Linked DNA regions of Homo sapiens: regions 1, 2, 3, 4, 5 and 6 are each linked to region 7. The links are contacts of gene promoters, found by promoter capture Hi-C in blood cells and fetal thymus (Javierre and others, 2016). All regions are on one chromosome and are shown on one strand. Each heading gives the region's core, a stretch centred on a gene start or on the middle of the fragment in contact. The rest is flanking DNA. Distances are from core to core; before and after follow the strand shown.

Evidence for each region. Contacts are between HindIII fragments. The CHiCAGO score rates a contact against its expected background, and 5 or more counts as called.
Region 1: a fragment that was not itself captured here is called in contact with the fragment with the promoter of TMPO in region 7 in 1 of 17 cell types (non-activated CD4 T cells); the score reaches 5.3 in non-activated CD4 T cells.
Region 2: a contact is called between a fragment that was not itself captured here and the fragment with the promoter of TMPO in region 7, in 1 of 17 cell types (activated CD4 T cells). The highest score is 7.4, in activated CD4 T cells.
Region 3: a fragment that was not itself captured here is called in contact with the fragment with the promoter of TMPO in region 7 in 1 of 17 cell types (non-activated CD4 T cells); the score reaches 7.8 in non-activated CD4 T cells.
Region 4: a contact is called between a fragment that was not itself captured here and the fragment with the promoter of TMPO in region 7, in 2 of 17 cell types (total CD8 T cells and fetal thymus). The highest score is 15.8, in total CD8 T cells.
Region 5: a contact is called between the fragment with the promoter of CHPT1 here and the fragment with the promoter of TMPO in region 7, in 1 of 17 cell types (neutrophils). The highest score is 5.5, in neutrophils.
Region 6: a contact is called between a fragment that was not itself captured here and the fragment with the promoter of TMPO in region 7, in 1 of 17 cell types (non-activated CD4 T cells). The highest score is 5.2, in non-activated CD4 T cells.

The regions. Positions count from the first base shown.
Region 1 is chr12:94,455,900-94,458,599 of GRCh38, forward strand. All of the region lies in intron 1 of CEP83 (centrosomal protein 83), which reads right to left. Among named protein-coding and RNA genes, the nearest start is that of CEP83, 2.6 kb to the right of the region's middle. RefSeq lists a silencer at 1-45. The HindIII fragment of the contact is 573 bases long and covers 1,001-1,573 here.
Region 2 is chr12:95,071,641-95,074,340 of GRCh38, forward strand. It overlaps NR2C1 (nuclear receptor subfamily 2 group C member 1), which reads right to left and starts at 1,978. Exons shown (of 14, transcript NM_003297.4): 1 at 1,740-1,978. RefSeq lists a silencer at 1,396-1,675 and enhancers at 1,565-2,065, 1,756-2,075. The HindIII fragment of the contact is 306 bases long and covers 1,099-1,404 here.
Region 3 is chr12:94,986,419-94,989,118 of GRCh38, forward strand. The region is part of intron 3 of NDUFA12 (NADH:ubiquinone oxidoreductase subunit A12); the gene reads right to left. Among named protein-coding and RNA genes, the nearest start is that of NDUFA12, 16 kb to the right of the region's middle. The HindIII fragment of the contact is 1,580 bases long and covers 562-2,141 here.
Region 4 is chr12:102,058,764-102,061,540 of GRCh38, forward strand. WASHC3 (WASH complex subunit 3) reads right to left here. Exons shown (of 7, transcript NM_016053.4): 2 at 2,485-2,583. Among named protein-coding and RNA genes, the nearest start is that of WASHC3, 1.8 kb to the right of the region's middle. The HindIII fragment of the contact is 3,599 bases long and covers 1-2,777 here.
Region 5 is chr12:101,696,377-101,699,076 of GRCh38, forward strand. CHPT1 (choline phosphotransferase 1) reads left to right here and starts at 1,264. Exons shown (of 9, transcript NM_020244.3): 1 at 1,264-1,758. The coding sequence starts at 1,486. RefSeq lists an enhancer at 738-987 and silencers at 1,208-1,547, 1,808-1,997. The HindIII fragment of the contact is 18,657 bases long and covers 1-2,700 here.
Region 6 is chr12:101,836,190-101,838,889 of GRCh38, forward strand. It overlaps the pseudogene RNA5SP369. Among named protein-coding and RNA genes, the nearest start is that of GNPTAB, 6.6 kb to the left of the region's middle. The HindIII fragment of the contact is 4,973 bases long and covers 1-2,700 here.
Region 7 is chr12:98,514,194-98,516,925 of GRCh38, forward strand. TMPO (thymopoietin) reads left to right here and starts at 1,397. Exons shown (of 9, transcript NM_001032283.3): 1 at 1,397-1,953. The coding sequence starts at 1,675. It overlaps TMPO-AS1 (TMPO antisense RNA 1), which reads right to left and starts at 2,033. Exons shown (of 2, transcript NR_027157.1): 1 at 1,798-2,033; 2 at 1-1,704. RefSeq lists enhancers at 1,017-1,096, 1,357-1,546 and a silencer at 1,887-2,156. The HindIII fragment of the contact is 4,246 bases long and covers 1-2,732 here.

The DNA.
Region 1 (2,700 bases), core at 37-2,536, 4.1 Mb before region 7:
AGCCAGGTGTGGTGGCATGCACCTGTTAGCCCCAGCCACTTGGGAGGCTGAGGCAGGAGAATCACGTGAACCCACGAGTTCAAGGTTGCAGTGAACAAAGATTGCACCACTACGCTCCAGCCTGGGCGACAGAGCAAAACTCCATCTCAAAAAAAAAAAAAAGAAAAAAGAAATAGTACTAGACTTGACAGTCAGTGATCTCTCCATGACCTAGAGAGGGCAGTCCTGATGAAAAAAATATAATTAATAAACTGATATTCTACTAGGAACCAGGAAATTGACCAAACTCCCCAAGCCCACTGAAGAATAGTGCCAGCATTCCTGAGAGTCCTTACTGCTGGTATTGCCATGGGAAATTCTCAAATACTCACTTTCTAGGAACAGAATCTTTATTTCTGATTCCGTGAATTCCCACTCTTCAATCTTTTTTATAGTTTACTGTTGCCATTTCCCCTTCACTTACTCTCTTCTCTCAACAACCTTACTTTCATGATACTTACAAAAGTGGGGGAAAGTAGAAATGCCTATCTGTCATTGTATTAGTCCATTTTCATATTGCTATAAAGAACTGCCTGAGATTGGGTAATTTATAAAGGAAAGAGGTTTAATTGATTCACAGTTCCACATGGCTGGAGAGGCGTCAGAAAACTTACAATCATGGCAGAAGGTGAAGGGGAAGCAAGGCACCTTCTTCACAAGGTAGCAGGAAGGAGAATGAATGCAGGAGGAACTACCAAACACTTATAAAACCACCAGATCTCATGAGAACTCACTGTCACGAGGAACAGTATGGGGGAAACCGCCGCCATGATCCAATTCCCTCCACCTGGTCTCTTCCCTGACACATGGGGATTATGGGGATTATAATTCAAGGTGAGATTTGGGTGGGGACACAAAGCCTAATCATATCAGTCATCTTTAAGAAACATTTATTCAGCAACTTGTATTTGGAAAAGACTAAGGATACAGCTCATCGAGATCTGAAGTCCTGCCCTTAATAAGCTTACAATCTAGTTAGGAAGTCAAGAAAGCTAAAATAATACAATAAAAAGTATAAGTATCAAATAAATTTAACTCACAAATACATACTATTCCTATGTATGTATGTATGAGGTCATGGTGGAGTTGAACCTTATAGAAAAGGTACAATTTAGATTTTAAGAAAGAAGGGAATAAGATCAGGTCACGGGGGATAGAAAGATATGCAGACTAATATGGAAAGGATAAAGTACAGAGCAGGTTTAGGGGATAGTGAAGAAACCAATCTGGGCAGAGACACCTTTTCCATAAAGAACATACACTTGAAAAGGCAAGGTGAGAGGATTTCAAATAATTCACCTTAAGTCAAGAAACATGAACTTGGGTTAAAAGGAAGTTTTTTACACAGATTTACACACATTCCCTAAAAGCACATAGGTTAAACAATGTGGGCAATTTACTTATGGAACCTAATATGTATGACAAAATTAAAAGCAAGCTCATCTACTTTTAGGCAAAGAGACAGTACCTGGGGGTGGGGAAATTCTGACAATTCACTAAAATTCACTAATCTTTCTGTTAAGATTTCACTCTAAGCTTCTTGAATTAGAACATCCCATGACATAATGCTGATTTCTGATTACTAAGGATTATACGAGTCATTCTTGATTTGTCTCCTCCATCTTGCCCAACTTTTGAATATTTCATTACTTCAACATCAGCATATAGAAAAAAGGAGGAGAGAACTAAAATTAAGTCCATGGATTTTAGCAATACATAAGGGTATCTGACATAAAGAACATTAAACTTCAAGTTCCAATTCCCATTATTAATAGATTTCAAAGAAGTCATTTAGTCTCATCATGTCTCAAATTTTCTCACATACTTGCTTACTTGAAAGGTTATTGATTGAAAAGATCATTCAAAAAGTGCTCTAAAAACTAACAACTTGCCATAAAAATTTTATCATTAAGGGTTCAATAAGAGGAGACAGTGAGGTGACTGGTAAACCAAGGATTAAAAACTACCTGTGAATAGGCCAGGCACGCTGGCTCACACCTGTAATCCCAGCACTTTGGGAGGTCAAGGTGGGCAGATCGCCTGAAGTCAGGAGTTCGTGACCAGCCTGGGCAATATGGTGAAACCCCATCTCTACTAAAAATACAAAAATTAGCAGGGCATGGTGGCATGCACCTGTAACCCCAGCTACTCGGGAGGCTGAGAGGAGAGAATCACTTGAAACTGGGAGGCGGAAGTTGCAGTGAGCTGAGATCCCACCACTGCACTCCAGCCTGAGCGACAAGAATGAAACTCTGTCTCAAAAAAAGAAAAAAAAAAAAACTACCTGTGAATAATCAGTGTTTCATTCTCCCAGTGCTGCATGGAATTCTAAATTGTATTTCACTATTATTTGAGAATGTTCTAAATACAGTCCGCGCACTTCATCTGATCTGGAAAGAAAACACTCAAAGTAAGGGGAATACCCAGCATACTCTGTCCTAAATAACCAAAGGACAACTCAAAACCATTTGCAACTCTCAGGAGAGTCCTGTGTGACACTTATAATTTAAAGCATTCTGGCCTGGTGCGGTGGCTCACACCTGTAATCCCAGCACTTTGGGAGGCCGAGGTGGGCGGATCACCTGAGGTCGGGAGTTTGAGACCAGCCTGGCCAACATGGTGAAACCCCATCTCTACTAAAATAAAAAAATTAGCCGGGCA
Region 2 (2,700 bases), core at 2-2,501, 3.4 Mb before region 7:
AAAATGAGGCCCCCCACCATTTCTATAAAACAAAACAAAAAAACCTTTCCTAGAAGAAACTAACATGCCCCTTGAAAAACTAAGATTAGCAACATTTCATAAAACCCACTTTTTTTTTTTTTTTTGAGACGGAGTTTCGCTCTTCTTGCCCAGGCTGGAGTGCAATGGCGCGATCTCAGCTCACTGCAACCTCCGCCTCCCGGGTTCAAGCAATTCTCCTGCCTCGGCCTCCGGAGTTGCTGGGATTACAGGTGTGCGCCACCACGCCCGACTAATTTTGTATTTTTAGTAGAAACGGGGTTTCTCCATGTTGGTCAGGCTGGTCTCGAACTCCCGACTTCAGATGATCCGCCCACCTCAGCCTCCCAAAGTGCTGGGATTACAGGTGTGAGCCACCGCGCCCAGCCGCGACCCACTTTTAATGATAGAAATACACATCGCTTTTTCAGATATACTAACTGGACTTAAAGCAAAGTTTAAAAACAATCATCGGCCGGGCGCGGTGGCTCACGCCTGTAATCCCAGTACTTTGGGAGGCCGAGGCGGGTGGATCAGAGGCGGGTACATCACGAGGTCAGAGTATCAAGACCATCCTGGCCAACATAGTGAAACCCCACCTCTACTAAAAATACAAAAAACAAAAACAAAAACAAAAACAAAAAAACTAGCTGGGTGTGGTGGCTCGTGTCTGTAATCCCAGCTACTCGGGAGGCTGAGACAGGAGAATCGCTTGAACCTGGAGGCGGAGGTTGCAGTGAGCCGAGATCGCGCCACCGCACTCCAGCTTGGCGACAGTGAGACTCCCTCTCCCTCTCAAAAAAAAAAAAAAAAAAAGAAAAAAAAATCGAGTATCACCAACCACACAGCAGAAATGGTTCAAAAAAGCTCAAAATCGAAGGTCCATTTACAAATTCTAGCGGTACTAAACCCTAAAGGCCGTAATTTTAGGTCTTTCTGCTTTTGCTTTCCGGTTACTTTTTTAAAGGCTGACCTACTTACTGAAGATTATGGGACAACCTGGCAACATTCGTACTGCACAAAAATGGTATCTGCCCGAGTTGGAAGAATTATTTCTTAACAAAAGAGCTATCTATCGGAAGCTTGGACATGCCCCCTGCAGTGAGAACCCTGGGGCCGTTCCATTTCTTCTGAAAAGATCCAGGCCCACAGGCAGCGACGACCCTGGCCAGATTTGCCGTGAGAGAAAAGTGAAAGTGGGGGGAGTCATTCTGTCCGTCCCGTGAAAGCACGGGAGTTAGTGACGGGATGCAGGCCGGGACTTGCGGCCACTAGCCGAGGGTCGGCCTCTCCCACGTCTCACTCGTGCCGGCGTTAGCCGTGCGCCCTGGAAGCCCCGGCGCTGCGCGCGGCTCTCCCGGGCGGGGAAAGCTGCAGCGCCGCGGAAGCTTTCCCTGCAGGTTAAAGGTCAGAGGCGCTGCGGTAAGCGCAGCTGGAAAGGGGGTTGTGTGCTCCAAGCCGCTCGCCGTCCGGCCCCGCGTCCCGCCGCCCCTGTCGCCCCCGCCTCTCCCGGGGCCCCGCGCATTTGGCGCCGCAGCTCCGCGCTCCCAGCCGAAGTCGAGCAGCCCCAAGCGGCGCTCCCAAACTGAACGGCTCCGCTGGCCGCAGGACGCCGGCCGGGGGATGCGCTGGGACCGCGTCCGTTGGCGGTTGGGGTGAAGGGCACCCCCTGGCCCCCGCCCCCGACGCGGTCGCTGGTGTCCCCACCCAGCGTTTCTTACCGGCGCTTTTGCGCCCTGCTGACTCCGGCGTCGGGCGCCGACGCGACAGTCCCGCGGCTGCCACTCGTGGATTGGGGGGCGCTCCGGGAAGAGAGGTTGAAGAAAGCCGACGGGATGTGGGATCGAGATTCACGGCGGAGAGAGCTTTCTGTGTTTGGGTATTTCTGGGGGGTCAGAGTTCGTGACCTCTTTCTCGGCTCGGCGGCGCGCTATCCCGCCAGCGCCTGCGCATTAGCAACGGGGAGAAGCGGCGAGAGGAGGTCGTGACGTTCCCAGGGTGGGGTGGAGGGATCGGAGGGCCGAGCAGCGGCTCTGTGAGTCCACTGCCCCCTTTTGGCTTGGAGGCAGAGTGCCCCGCCAGAGCTACGCGTTCCCAGCCAGGTAATTTTTGAAGCCACGTGCAAAGGTTTAAGCATCGTTTGCCAAAGGTGGGCATTAGGGGAGGTTTTGAGTCAACGTTTTAGATTTGAGTAATAAATAACCCTCTGGGTCTTAGGCATATCTGTTTCTAATTTCTGGAAAACTGGGCTCTGGGGTAGAGTCCAATCATATTTAAACTTTTTTTTTTTTGTATTACACTTTAAGTTCTAGAGTACATGTACACAACGTGCAGGTTCGTTACATATGTATACATGTGCCATGTTGGTGTGCTGCACCCATTAACTCGTCATTTACATTAGTAAGCTTTATATATAATGACAAGCTGAGGCCGACTCATGCAAATGGTAAGGCAAAGTTTCACTTATAAACTGTTGTGAGTAAAGAGACATAATGGCTAAACAGGGCAAGAATATAATCACTAGAGACTGGGCACGGTAGCTCACGCCTGTAATCCCAGCAAGTTGGGAGGCCGAGGCGGACGGATCACTTGAGCCCGGTTGTTTGAGGCCAGCCTGGCCAACATGGCGAAAACCCGTCTCTACAAAAAAATTAGCCAGTCCTGGTGGCGCGTGCCTGTCGT
Region 3 (2,700 bases), core at 102-2,601, 3.5 Mb before region 7:
TATTTGGAAATTGCTAAAATAATTTTAAGTGTTTTTACCACAAAAAAATGATAAGTATGTGAGGTAATTGATTTACTAATTGGCTTGATTTAATCATTCCACAATGTAAACATGTATCAAAACATCATATTGTACCCCACAAATATATACAATTATTATTTGTCAATTAAAAATAAAATTTTAGCCTGGGCAACACTGTGAGACCCCTATCTCCTAAAAAAAAACCAGCAGGTTGTGGTGATGCACCCCTGTAGTCCCAGCTACTTGGGAGGCTGAGGCAGGAGGATGGCTTAAGCCCAGGAGGTTGAGGCTGGAGTGAGCTGTGAAAGCACCAGTGCACTCAGCCTGGGCGACAGAGTGAGACCCTATCTCAAATAAAATATTTTTAAAAACTGAGAACCCCTCCCCTCTAAAAACCTCCAAAGAACTCCAAATGCAGCTTGAATGGGTTCCAACTAGTCAAATTGAGCCCAATTTGAACAATAAAAGAACCATTTAAAGCAATGGATTATAACCCATTGATTAAAATAGGAGTTGATACAGATACAAATAATGAATTAAAGCTTTGATGAGTAAGGGGATACTTACATAACCTCAAAGTGTCTCCCCACAAAATGCTAATTAATTTCAAAGGGAAAATTAGTAACTTTAGAATGGAGAAAACCGGCAGACCCCTTAATCACGTGATAGAGGTTTTCATTAATAATAGGACAAAAACAAATCAGCTGCTACTTAATAGAGTGCAACAAGAAAAACATGGCTTCAGTGACAGGAATGTCACAGAAGCATAGCCTGAACCTAGTCATGAGGAAACATTCAACAAACTCACTGAGGGACCTTCAACAATATAACTGTCAAGTAATTTTCAAAAGCGTCAAGGTCATGAAAATCACAGAAAAGTTGAGGAACCAATCAAGTGTGAAGGAGACTAAAGAACTTGAGATCCATATGAAATGTGTGATTGGATCTCTCTATAAAGGACACTGTTGGGACAACTGACGAAACCTGAGTGGCTGAAGTTCAGAACACGCTGCTCCAAAATATGCAGCTCTGGCATATGGACTATGCTGAGTTAAAGGCACTTGAACAACAGCAGGCACGGCTGGGTGTGGTGGCTCATGCCTGTAATCTCAGCACTTTGGGAGGCCAAGGTAGGCAGATCACTTGAGGCCAGGAGTTCAAGACCAGCCTGGCCAACATGATGAAACCCCGTCTCTACTTAAAATACAAAAATTCGCCAGGTGTAGTGGCACATGCCTGTAATCCCACCTACTTGGGAGGCTGAGATAGGAGGATCATTTGAGCCCAGGAGGTCGAGGCTGCAGACTGTACCACTGCACTCCAGCCTGGGTGACAGGGCAGGACATTGTCTCAAAAAAAAAAAAAAAAAAAAAAAAAGGTAAAGAAAAACAGCAGGCACAAGAATAATATGGCCTTTTTCTTTCTGAAAGCAGGAGAAAAAATTCCCACATCAAAGATATCCTCCCTATACCAGAAGGAAACTATCATTCTACATCAAGGACAGGAAATTGAGGTCAAGGGAAATCTGCACAAACGTTGTTAAATTAACTTTTATCTTCTTAGTCACTTCTCCACCCAATTAACCTACTCAAGCCCAAGTCCCTTTGTCTTCTCATTTTCAGTGTTCTACTCCTTGTCCAATTCAGTATCTAAGTGTTCAACATGAACTGCATCTTTGGGTCTTCATCCCTTATGAGGGCTCCACATCACGGAACTCTTATATTAAATAAATTTGTATGCTTTTCTCCTGTTAACATGTCTTTAATTCTCAAGCCCAACCAAAAAGCCCTAAGAGGATAAGGGTAAAATTTTGCCTCCCTTTCATAGTGTATCTTTGTTACTTTCCTGATATTTATGGTCATATTGTGGTTATGTAGGACAATGTTCTTGTTTGCAAGACGTACACACTAAAGTATTCAGGAGTGATGGGGCATCAATTTGGCAACTTACTTTTATTAAAATATTAGTAATGATTCTGAAAGTTCGGGATTATTCCAAATGTTAAAAAACTGTAAATCAGATCACACCCTATCTTACCTTCCAGTGACTTCCAAATAAATTCAGACAAAAAGCCGAAGTATGTACCATGGCTTACTGAAAGATTCTCCCTGAGGCCTGAAAGCTTGAAGAGATGAATAACTCCTCCCTTCTCAGGCCCAGTCCCAAGCTTGGGCCAGCAGCGTGGGTCAGCAAGACAGCAGAAGCAGGAAGAGAGCTGGCCGAAAGACACATACCCCCTTGAAGATTGAGGGGCAGGCCGTCCAGGTACTATGTAGCAGTTACATCAGACTGAGACACTTCCTGTTTACAGGAGACTATAAAACCCCTGCCCCATCCTCATTTGGTGCTAACGCCATTTTAGGCATCAGCCCACCTGCACCCAGGCGCTCATTAAAACAGTGTGTTGCTCCACACTGCCATGTTGTCTGCTGATGCACTCTCAGGGTTCGAGCCGATACAAGAACCTTTCATCTTACAACATCTACATGATTTGGGCCCTAGCTATTTCTCCTACCTCGTTTCTTAACATCTTCCCCTCACTCATTCCATTCCAGCCAAACTGGCCATACTGCTGTTCTTTGAACAGACCAAGCAATACATCTCAAACATACAGGCTTTGCACCTGTGGTTCCCTCTGCCTGGAACGCTTTCTCCCCGCTTCTACGTCTTTCCTCAAAT
Region 4 (2,777 bases), core at 278-2,777, 3.5 Mb after region 7:
GCAACATTATTCACAATAGCCAAGATACGGAATCAAAAGTGTCCATCAATGGATGAATGGATTAAAAAAAGTGGTATATATACACAATGGAATACTATTTAGCCTTAAAAAAGAATGAAATCCTGTCATTTGTGACAACATAAATGAACTGGAAGACATTGTGTTAAATGAAATAAGCCAGTCAAACAGAGACAGATACTGAATGATCTCACTTATATATGGAGGATAAAAAAGTACAACTCATAGAAATATTGAGTAGAATGGTGGTTAGCAGGGGCTTGGGGTTAAGAGGATTGGGGAGATGCGGTTAAAGGATACAAAATTTCAGTTAGGCAGGAGGAATAAGTTCAAGAGATCTCCTACATGTCATGGTGACTGCTGTTAATAACAATATATTGTATTGAAAATTGCTAAGAGAGGCGATTTTAAGTGTGCTCACCACAAAAAAAAGTAAGTACGTGAGGCATTGCTTATGTTAAATAGCTTGGTTTGGCCATTCCACAATGTATTCATATATCAAAACATCATGTTGTACATCATAAAAATACAATTTTTACCTGTCAATTTAAATAAAGAAATAAGATTTTTGAAAAAGGACAAAAGGCAATAGACTACCTTTAAACTTCATGAGGTTTTGATGAACAAACTTTTCTCTAGAGTTCAAAGAAGTACTAGAATACAGATACAGCCAGAACAGCTGCAGAGAAGTTGAGACAGGAACAGGAGGAGGTTAAAGAGTGACTCATGAGGCTTTGATCATAATCTATCAATAAATGAGATGACTATTGTTTTCTTTGATCTAGTTGTCAGTAAACAGCTCTCATTCAAGAACCATTAGGCACTACAAAGGTGAAGGGCTATCCCTGTTTCAGGACAGCTCAAACAAGTTGCTTTCATAGGTGTGTTTACTTGTTGCTTTGTTCTTTATTTTTCAGCTTGATGATAAGGGCTATGGGGATAAGAGTATTTGCTTCTTTCTGCTAGTAATCCTGGGACAGTCCCTTTCCAGATACTTCTCCATCTTGCCCTGGTATAAAAATCGAAGGGTGAAAACCTTGGCTTACTGGTTTTTATTCAGTCAATTTTATATCCTAAATTATTTAGAGAGATAGTAGGAACGAAATAAAACTGACTGGAAGCAAGCACCTAGTTTCTGGCCATTAACATATAAAACTAAATTGAATTAAGCCCCTTACTCTACCAATTACTATATTTTACTTTGTCTTAGAAGGCAGAAGAAATGTTGATAATTAGACAAAACAATAACTGGAATTTCATACAAGTAAAAAATAGTTTTCCCATCTCCATGCAATTTTTATTAATAGTAGTAACACACTTAACAAAAACTCTAATTGCTAAGGCTATACCTTACATAAGACAGAATGTTCAACAGACTTACTTGTGAATATCTAAGTCCCATAATTTACTTTGCTCTTTCCTTAAATGCAATTTCAACCCATGGTTCCCATTGTCTTCCCCATCCTCTTTTGGCTTTTTAAAAGACAGGGATTCCCTGGATCCTGGATCTAGTACCTAATCCTCTTTTTTAAAACAAAAACAAAAACAAAACACTGAGTTTCTCTGTTGTCCAGTCTTGTCTCAAATTCCCGGGCGCAAGTGATCCTCCTGCCTCTGCCTCCCGAGTAGCTGGGATTACAGGTGCGCACTGCTGTGCCAGTTCTGGTACCTAATCCCTAGTTGGGTACTTAATCCTTACATCACAAGTCATTTGCAGAAAATATTTTCATTTCTATAATCATATTTGATGCCAAAGTTATGTTTCTAGGCTATCTCCTCTAGCCATCTTTTAGATCCAGAATGTAAAATAAATTTAAACAATGTGGTTTTGGGGTACGGGAACGAATGACAAATTGCAAAATAAAAACTGTTTTCAACTGTGAAATTTTAGAAGCCGGGCGCGGTGGCTCACGCCTGTAATCCCAGCACTTTGGGAGGCCGAGGCTAGTGGATCGCCCAAGGTCAGGAATTCGAGACCAGCTTGATCAACATGTTGGAACCCCGTTTCTACTAAATATAAAAAATTAGCCAGGCATGGTGGCGCATGCCTGTAATCCCAGCTACTCAGGAGGCTGAGGCAGGAGAATCGCTTGAACCCGGGAGGTGGAGGTTGCAGTGAGCCGAGATCGCGCCACTGCACTGTAGCTTGGGTGACAGAGTGAGACCCTGTCTCACAAAAAAAAAAAAAAAAAAAAAAAAAATTAGATTTCCTATTGTTCCCTTTAATCGCAATAAGCCTGACTGACCTATCTCACAGGGACCTCTAGAACACTAACTCAGTAGAGGAGGGGTGCAGGATTGATTTTAACAGAGTAAAAGAGAACCTAAGATGTGTTAACACAATTGGGTGATGAGAGGTCACGGTACATGAATAAAGACTGTAATTCTTGTTTTACTCCATTTGTCAGTCTCAGCAGTGAAAGGTGATTTCCAGGCGACTCTATAAACCAGTATCACCGGACCTACCTCCTCACAAACTGTAGAAAAGCGGTTGAGGAACTGTACAGTGTGCACCACAAATTGGTTTAGAAAAGCCACCGTTCTTTTCTGTTGAATAGCTGGCACCTGTGTTACGTAAAAACAAACATGGTTCATACAGGAGGAACGTACACAGTGCAAATCTTTTCATATTTGGACATAATCACGAGGCACTTTGCTGTGTGATATGAATTTCTTGAAGGACTGGGAATAGTCATTAACTTGTTTCCTAAGCTGTGGGTGGGGTGTCCGAAGATGACAGAGGTGCACAAAAGTTTGAG
Region 5 (2,700 bases), core at 14-2,513, 3.2 Mb after region 7:
TCTGTAGAGACCCTCATTGCTCTAAGGCAGTGGTTGCCAGTTTTTTCCTTAAAGGGCCTAGTAGGACATAGTCCAGGCTTTGCCAGCCATACGGTCTGTCACAACTGAATTCTGCTGCCCTTGTAGCATGAAGGCAGCCAAACAATAGGTAAGGAATAAACATGGCTTTATTCGTGGCACTGAACTTTGAATTTCATATAATTTCACAACACAAAATTGTATTCTTTTGATTTTTTCCAATCATTTAAAAATGTCAAAACCATACTTAGCTGGAGGGCTGTAGGAAAACAGGTGGTGGGCTGGGTCTGGCACACAGGCAGCAGTTCGTGGACCCCTGTGCCAAGTGTTTGACGAAGCCCGTGAGGCAAACTGCACTTGCCGATAGAGGTTGCGCCACACAAGTGTCTTGGAAGCAATTTCTGGCTTGTCCTAGGCCTTAGAAAGTGCGTGCAGATCAGAGCCATGAAGTGAAGAGCAAAGCAAGTGACAGGCCTGTCTCAGGTTGTGCAACAGAACGTGTTTATGACAGATGTCCCCTGTCCAAGTGAGTGCACTGTGAGATAAGGGGCCGGTGACCTACCAATGCGTGTGGCAAGCCAGCCTGTTCCCCCTTGCAGGGGGAGGACACTCCTGCCCTTTATTCCAGGGAAGAGTATGTGTAAAAATATTCACCCTTGTTGGTATCAAATGCGCTGAAGAAAATAGGTATCGGGGTTTCAGCCATTCGGTCTCCTTGTTAGTGTTTCTAAGCCCTGATTTTCAGTTTCAAAACCTTGGTCTCTGAATCCGCAGTGATGGGTCTCTAGAGCGAATACATGGCAGGGCCGCCTTCCTCCGTACAGAAAGGGAGAATTGTGCTTGTGTGTTTTACCAAGCAGGACAGATGGGGCCGTCACCCCCGTGACCCGAGCCCTGCAAAACTGTGTTCTCACACGAAAACCCCCAGGCTCTGCGGGCAGCGTGGTCCTGCAGTGGCTAACACTGGGCGACCGGAGTCGTGTTCCGACCCCTAGGAGAGGAACCGGCTCGGTCGTGGTGCAGCCCGCGAGGAGACGACCTCAGGGCGTAATCCGACGCCGTGGGTTAAGACATCAGACCTCAGGCGCAGTGCAGCCGGCCCCTGGGGAGTCAAGGACCTTGATCGCCGATAACAAGTTGCCGTTGGCGGGCGCCGAGGGTGACCCGCGAGCGCGGCACCCGCCTCCCCGCCCCTAGCAGGACCCCCTCCGCCCCGCCCCCAGCCGGACCCCTCCCCGAGGCCCCGCCCCACCCGCGAGCCGCAGCCGCGGCCCCACAGCTTCTGGGGCTGGGGCCCCGGCAGCCGGGCAGGCCGGCCTGACCTCGACCTCCGCCGTGCGGGCCCGACCGGTGAGTCCAGCCCGGCAGTCGCAGGACCCGGCCGCCAGCCTCTCCCTCCACCTCTCCCTGCCCCCAGCGCCAGGCGCGGGCTGCGCTCGGTGGCGGCGGCGGGGCCCTCAGGCGGCCATGGCGGCAGGCGCCGGGGCCGGGTCCGCGCCGCGCTGGCTGAGGGCGCTGAGCGAGCCGCTGAGCGCGGCGCAGCTGCGGCGACTGGAGGAGCACCGCTACAGCGCGGCGGGCGTCTCGCTGCTCGAGCCGCCGCTGCAGCTCTACTGGACCTGGCTGCTCCAGTGGATCCCGCTCTGGATGGCCCCCAACTCCATCACCCTGCTGGGGCTCGCCGTCAACGTGGTCACCACGCTCGTGCTCATCTCCTACTGTCCCACGGCCACCGAAGAGGTAGGGCTGGCCGATCGCCCGAGCCGGGCCCCAGATGCGCTGCGGGCGGGTCGCTGGAGGCGCCGGGGGAAGGGCGGACCCACGCGCGGCTGAGCCTCTCCCGGGCCCCGGAGGGGCGGACTGGCCACTGCCCCGGGCGGTGTCCGCCCTGGGCCGCCTGGAGACTGTCACGCCACTATCCCAATCCCGTGACCATCCCAAGCCTCCCCTGGGCAGCGGAGGGGCTGTTAAGGTCACTGCCCCAGGTCCTATGTCCGCGCAGATCCTCCCCACGGCCGCGGACGGGCCGGAGGGCGCCTGCCCAGCCGCTATCCCATGCGGCGCCAACCTGTGAGACGGACCCGCGGTCGGGTGCTTTGCACACTGGGGACTGAACACCCCCATCTCCGTCCTGCCTGGCACAGGGACTTGTGCCAAGCCCGAGACGCCCTTTGAATACTTTCGTAACCGTTCGTTTCTGGAAGGTTGAGCTAGTGATCTTGAAATGACCGGTAGCACTGATCAAAGATGAGTTAAGAGGTAACTTCCTCTTTGCTTCATCGACTTTTTCAAGAAAAACAAACTGGAATGTTATCAAGGCAATAATTTTTTTGTCATCACAACCTAGGGATTAAAAAAACCCCAACATTTTATTAGCAATAATTACATTTGACCTTTGTACAAAATAAGGAGTAAATATAGGCTTTGGATAGCTGTTCATCAGAAGCACCCTTTGGGCTGAGTGTGGAGGGATAGGGGGCAGAGTGGAGTTCACTCCCATCTATAGTTTATACTACGTGGGATAAATATTACATTGCACATTCTGTGACATTACTTTCTATTCTCTGCTCCAAATAGTGAAGTCCCTTTATAATCATTTGAGTGTAGGCCTTGTGGAGGACTCATGGAGGTTGAGGTTGGATTAACAGAAATACAGTGGAAATATTTCATGCCCTCCATGCA
Region 6 (2,700 bases), core at 33-2,532, 3.3 Mb after region 7:
GCAATATTAATAATTAAAACCAGGGACTCCAAAAAAGGTGACAGTTGGGGGGTGATGAGATTTGAAAAATTACCTGTCAGGTACAGTGTTCACTATTTGGGTAATGGGTACACTAGAAGCTCAATCTTTACTAGTATTCAGTATACCCATTTAACAAACATGCATGTGTATCCCTTCAATCTGGAATAAAATTAAATACATTTTAAAAAGAAAGTGAGGATGGCTTTTAATTTTTGCAAACTAGTGCAAACAAAATTATTAAGTAATTTAACTGTTTCTGATAGAATTTCCTTTTCTTTTTTTTTTTTTTCTTTTTTTTTTTGAGATGGAGTCTCACTCTGATGCCCAGGCAGGAGTGCTTTGGCATGGTCTCTGCTCATTGCAACCTCCGCCTCCTTGGTTCAAGTGACTCTCCTGCCTCAGCTTCCCAAGTGTCTGGGATTACAAGCACCTGCCACCATGCCTGGCTAATTTTTGTATTTTTAGTAGAAATGGGGTTTCACCATGTTGGCCAGGCTGGTCTCAAACTTCTGGCTTCAGGTAATCCGCCTGCCTCGGCCTCCCAAAGTGCTGGGATTACAGGCATGAGCCACCGCAGCCAGCCTCTGACAGAATTTCAAGAGCCAAATCTATGGCCATACCACCCTGAAGGCGCCCAATTTCATCTGATCTCCTTAAAGCTAAGCAGGTTTGGGCCTGGTTAGTACTTGGATGGAAGAATTTCAAGAGCCAAAACATAACATGGCTCACTGTTAACTTTTTTGTGAGTTCAAACACATCACATATATATAAAATACCTAATTTTCACATAAATGTAACCATACTTTGTCCTTTTTTTTTTTTTTTTTTTTTTTTTGAGATGAAGCCTCGCCCTGTTACCCAGGCTGGAGTGCAATGGCACAATCTTGGCTCACTGCAACCTCTACCTCCCACGTTCAAGCAATTCTCCTGCCTCAGCCTCCCAAGTAGCTGAGATTACAGGAATGTGCCACCACGCCCAGTTAATTTAGTATTTTTAGTAGAAATGGGGTTTTACCATGTTAGCCAGGCTGGTCTCAAACTCTCGACCTCAGATGATCCGCCCACCTTGGCCTCCCAAAATCCTAGGATTACAGGCATAAGCCACCGCACCAGGCCCAACCATACTTTATTCTGTTTATGTGATATTTACTTGTGGGTTTTTTTGTACATTTCATCCACTGGAATATAAGCAACATAAAGGCAAGAGACTTACCCATCTTATCCAGAAATGTATCCCTAATCTTAGCATTGTGTCTTGCCAATAGAAACTAATTGATAAAAATTTATTACATGAATTAATATATTTTGCACTGATAAAAGTACCAACCATTGGCTGAGGTGGCTCACACCTGTAATGCCTGCACTTTGGTAGGCCAAGGAGGGTGGATCACTTGAGCCCAGGAGTTCGAAACCAGCCTGGCCAACATGGCGAAACCACATTTCTACTAAAAATACAAAAATTAGCCAGGTGTGATGGTGTATGCTTGTAATCTCAGCTATGTGGGAGACTGAAGCAGGAGAATTGCTTGAGCCTGGGAGGCAGAGATTGCAGCGAGCCGAGATTGCGCCACTGCACTCCAGCCTGGGCGACAGAGAGGGACTCTGTTTCAAAAAAAAAAAAGTTCCAATCACAGAGTTGTATAAAGTTTTGATGAATTGAATTACAGTGTGTTATTAAAGGATATAGAGAATAACCCTATGTTTTGAGGTAGAGCTCATTTGGAAAACTTTCTAGCTTGGGATCATTTTTATATAGTGGAATATACTAATGTCAACTTGGTTTTAAAACCTCTGTTATTTCTATCATTATTGACTCTGGTTGTTTGTTTGCTTCATTTTGTCTACTACTTCTTTGTATCTTTTCTCCCTTTGCCTAAATAACCTTTTCTTTTTTTAGAGACAGGGTCTCTCTGTCACCCTGGCTGGAGTGCAGTGATACCATCTTGGCTTACTGCAGCCTCGACCTCCTGGGCTCAAGCGATCCTCCCACTGCAGCCCCTGGAGTAGCTGGGATTACAGGTGTGCACCAATATGCCTGGCTAATTTTTGTATTTTTTGTAGAGATGGGTTTTCGCCATGTTGTCCAGGCTGGTCTTGAACTCCTGAGCTCAGGCAATCCACCCATCTCGGCCTCCCAGAGTGCTGGGATTACAGGCATGAGCCATTGTGCCCAGCCTAAATAATCTTTTCAAAAACCAGCTTCTGCCAGGCACGGTGGCTCACAATGGAATCTGGAAAAGAAGGCTGGCCCAGTAGTCCCAGAACCTTGGGACACCAAGGCAGGAGGATTGCTTGAGGTCATGAGTTCAAGACCAGCCTGGGAAATATATCGAGATGCCCTGTCTCTACTAAAAATACAAAAAATGTGCTGGGCATGGTGGTGTGCGCCTGTAGTCCCAGCTACTCAGGAGGCTGAGGCGGAAGAATCACCTGAACCTGGGAGGCAGAGGTTGCAGTGAGCTGAGATTGCACCACTGCATTCCAGCCTGGGCAACAGAGTGAGACTCCGTCTCCAAAAAAAAAAAAAAAAAAGACAAAAAAAAAAAAAAAACACACCAAACAGACAAAAAAAAAACCCAGCTTCCTGTTTGGGTCATTCTCTCTAATGTTCTGTGGTTTTCTATTCATTGATTTGTGTCTCTGTCTTGGTAATTTTCCCCCCTTATTCTGTTTGCTCTG
Region 7 (2,732 bases), core at 147-2,646:
CAAGCAACTTTTACAAGGGATCATAAAAACCTACCTAACAACTTGCTAATTAAAACCTGATTTTTAATTTGCATTATTGAGCTTAATACCATTGCTTAAATGTATGTGAATACTGAGATTTTTATAAAGGAATTAGTTACCTCTAGGAAAATAATTATCACTAAAAGAAATAATATCGCAATTTGAATAAAAGTAAGTCGCTTAAATCATAGGAAACATTTTTAGTGAAGGCGTTTGTTTTAAATGTATTCTAACCTAGCAATGTAGAAAGCAGGCAAACATTTAAAAAAAATTTAACCAGTTTCTAAAACATAGTTTGGAGCTCAGATTCTGGGGAAATGATTAACACACCCTACATCCAAGGTCTCCTTTCCTTTCTAGAAAGAAAGCATCTTTAAACATACATATTCATCAGAAATACAAATATTTGTCATCAGTGATACTAATTTCCAGGCAAACATTTTAATTGCAGTCAATGTATTAGATTCTACCAGGTTTTAATTTGGATCGGTAATACGGGTTTGATTAGGGTTCTAGGCCTAATTATAGGTCACTAGTCTTCCTTTAGGATTATGCACCATCTGTTATTTTAAATTGACCATTGAGGGGGTTCCCAAGGGTTCTCCTTCGTTTTGTTATCAAACGTTAGGTTTAGGATTCTTGCGGGTGGTGGGATCCAAAGCCAGAGACGGTTTCAACAAAAATGCAAGCGCGAATTTGTCTTGCGTCTGAACGCACTGTTCAAATTAAACAATTTAGACATGCCCCAACTATGACACTAAGAAGTGAATGGTATAGTACACTTTTGTCACAAATTCAAGGGTAATTTAAGTGCCCGATTGTAGAGGTCTGGCTTCCCCTGGGTTTCTGGAACAAAAGAAGCGTTCGCGAGGAGAGGGGTAACTCCCCGCCCTCCCCCTCCCAAAGTAAATCAAATCAAGGAATATGAGTGCCTGCAGACAAGCCTCGCTTCTTTTCTTCCCCTTCAGGGCTAGCGTTTGGGGAAGGCAAGGCTGCGGCTACTCTTGGAGCTTCAGTGTCCCGGGAGGAAGAAAGGCCCAGCCAAGGGTCCTCACACTGGCGTGGAATTCGGCGCGTTCGTAGGCGATCGACCCCAGAGACGAAAGCTGCTTCTCAAGCTGGGGGAGGGAGAGGAAACGGCGCACAAAAGCAGTACGACCTGTCCCTTATCGGCGTCTAAGGGGAAGGGTGGAGAAAACGAAAACAGAAGCGGGCCGGGAGCCTCGGCTCCCGCCCCAGCGCCTTTTAAACTGCGTTTCTACCTCCTCTCGCTCAGCGCGGCGGCTAATGGAACCCGCGCGAGCCGTCTCGCCAATCACCGCCGCGCTTCCTCCCGTCGCCCGCCAATGGCGGCGCGCGTTCTTGGGGCGTGGGCGAAGCAGGCTGCTCGCCTCCTGCCTGTAGTGTGTGGGCTGGGGTTGGTGCGAGCTTCCAGCTTGGCCGCAGTTGGTTCGTAGTTCGGCTCTGGGGTCTTTTGTGTCCGGGTCTGGCTTGGCTTTGTGTCCGCGAGTTTTTGTTCCGCTCCGCAGCGCTCTTCCCGGGCAGGAGCCGTGAGGCTCGGAGGCGGCAGCGCGGTCCCCGGCCAGGAGCAAGCGCGCCGGCGTGAGCGGCGGCGGCAAAGGCTGTGGGGAGGGGGCTTCGCAGATCCCCGAGATGCCGGAGTTCCTGGAAGACCCCTCGGTCCTGACAAAAGACAAGTTGAAGAGTGAGTTGGTCGCCAACAATGTGACGCTGCCGGCCGGGGAGCAGCGCAAAGACGTGTACGTCCAGCTCTACCTGCAGCACCTCACGGCTCGCAACCGGCCGCCGCTCCCCGCCGGCACCAACAGCAAGGGGCCCCCGGACTTCTCCAGTGACGAAGAGCGCGAGCCCACCCCGGTCCTCGGCTCTGGGGCCGCCGCCGCGGGCCGGAGCCGAGCAGCCGTCGGCAGGGTAAGGACGCGGGGCCGGGGCTACAAAGGCGGGCGTTTGGCGGTTGCCGCGCGCGCTCGCCGCCGTTTGCAGCCCCTCCCTCCCGGGCGCCCCCTCGGGCCTCCCAGGTGCGGGGCTGTCCCTGCGCCCCCTCGCGTCGCCCCTTCCCCGCGGGGCTGCAGGCGCCGGAGCGGAGAGGCCAGAAGTTGGGGCCGCGGGGTTCGCGTTCTTTGACGTGTGGGTCTGGGAGGTGTGGAGTTGCGTTGGCGGCGGTTGTTTTGCACGCAGTCGACGCCGCTTCCCTGGACCACCAGCCGCCTGCAGCGGGCGTTTAGACGGGGACTTCCGTGCCCTTTCGAAAGCTCTGGAGGGGTGGCCCCAAAATGCTATAGGTTAAGTTCGAGCGTTTTCCCGCTTTATTAACTGAAATGACTCGCAGCAGAGTCTCAGAGCGCTCCCTGGAGGGCAACTGATGACACTCTAATTTCTAACCAAAATTTGAAATGAGGAAATTCCCGCCTTTTTATACTTTTGCGTGTGGAGGGCTTTTTGAACCGTTTATGTTTTCTAGTTTGTTTTAATTTTTCCCAGCAACAGGCCATCTTTTGGCGGAACAGGTTCATGCCGAATTAAAAGGAGCATTTTAAACTATATTTTTAGGCGCCTATTATAATTTTTTAGTTTTTATTTATTTATTTTTTTAGATGGAGTGTCGCACTTGTTGCCCAGGCTGGAGTGCAATGGCGAGATCTCGGCTCACCGCAACCTCCACCTCCCGGGTTCAAGCGATTCTCCTGCCT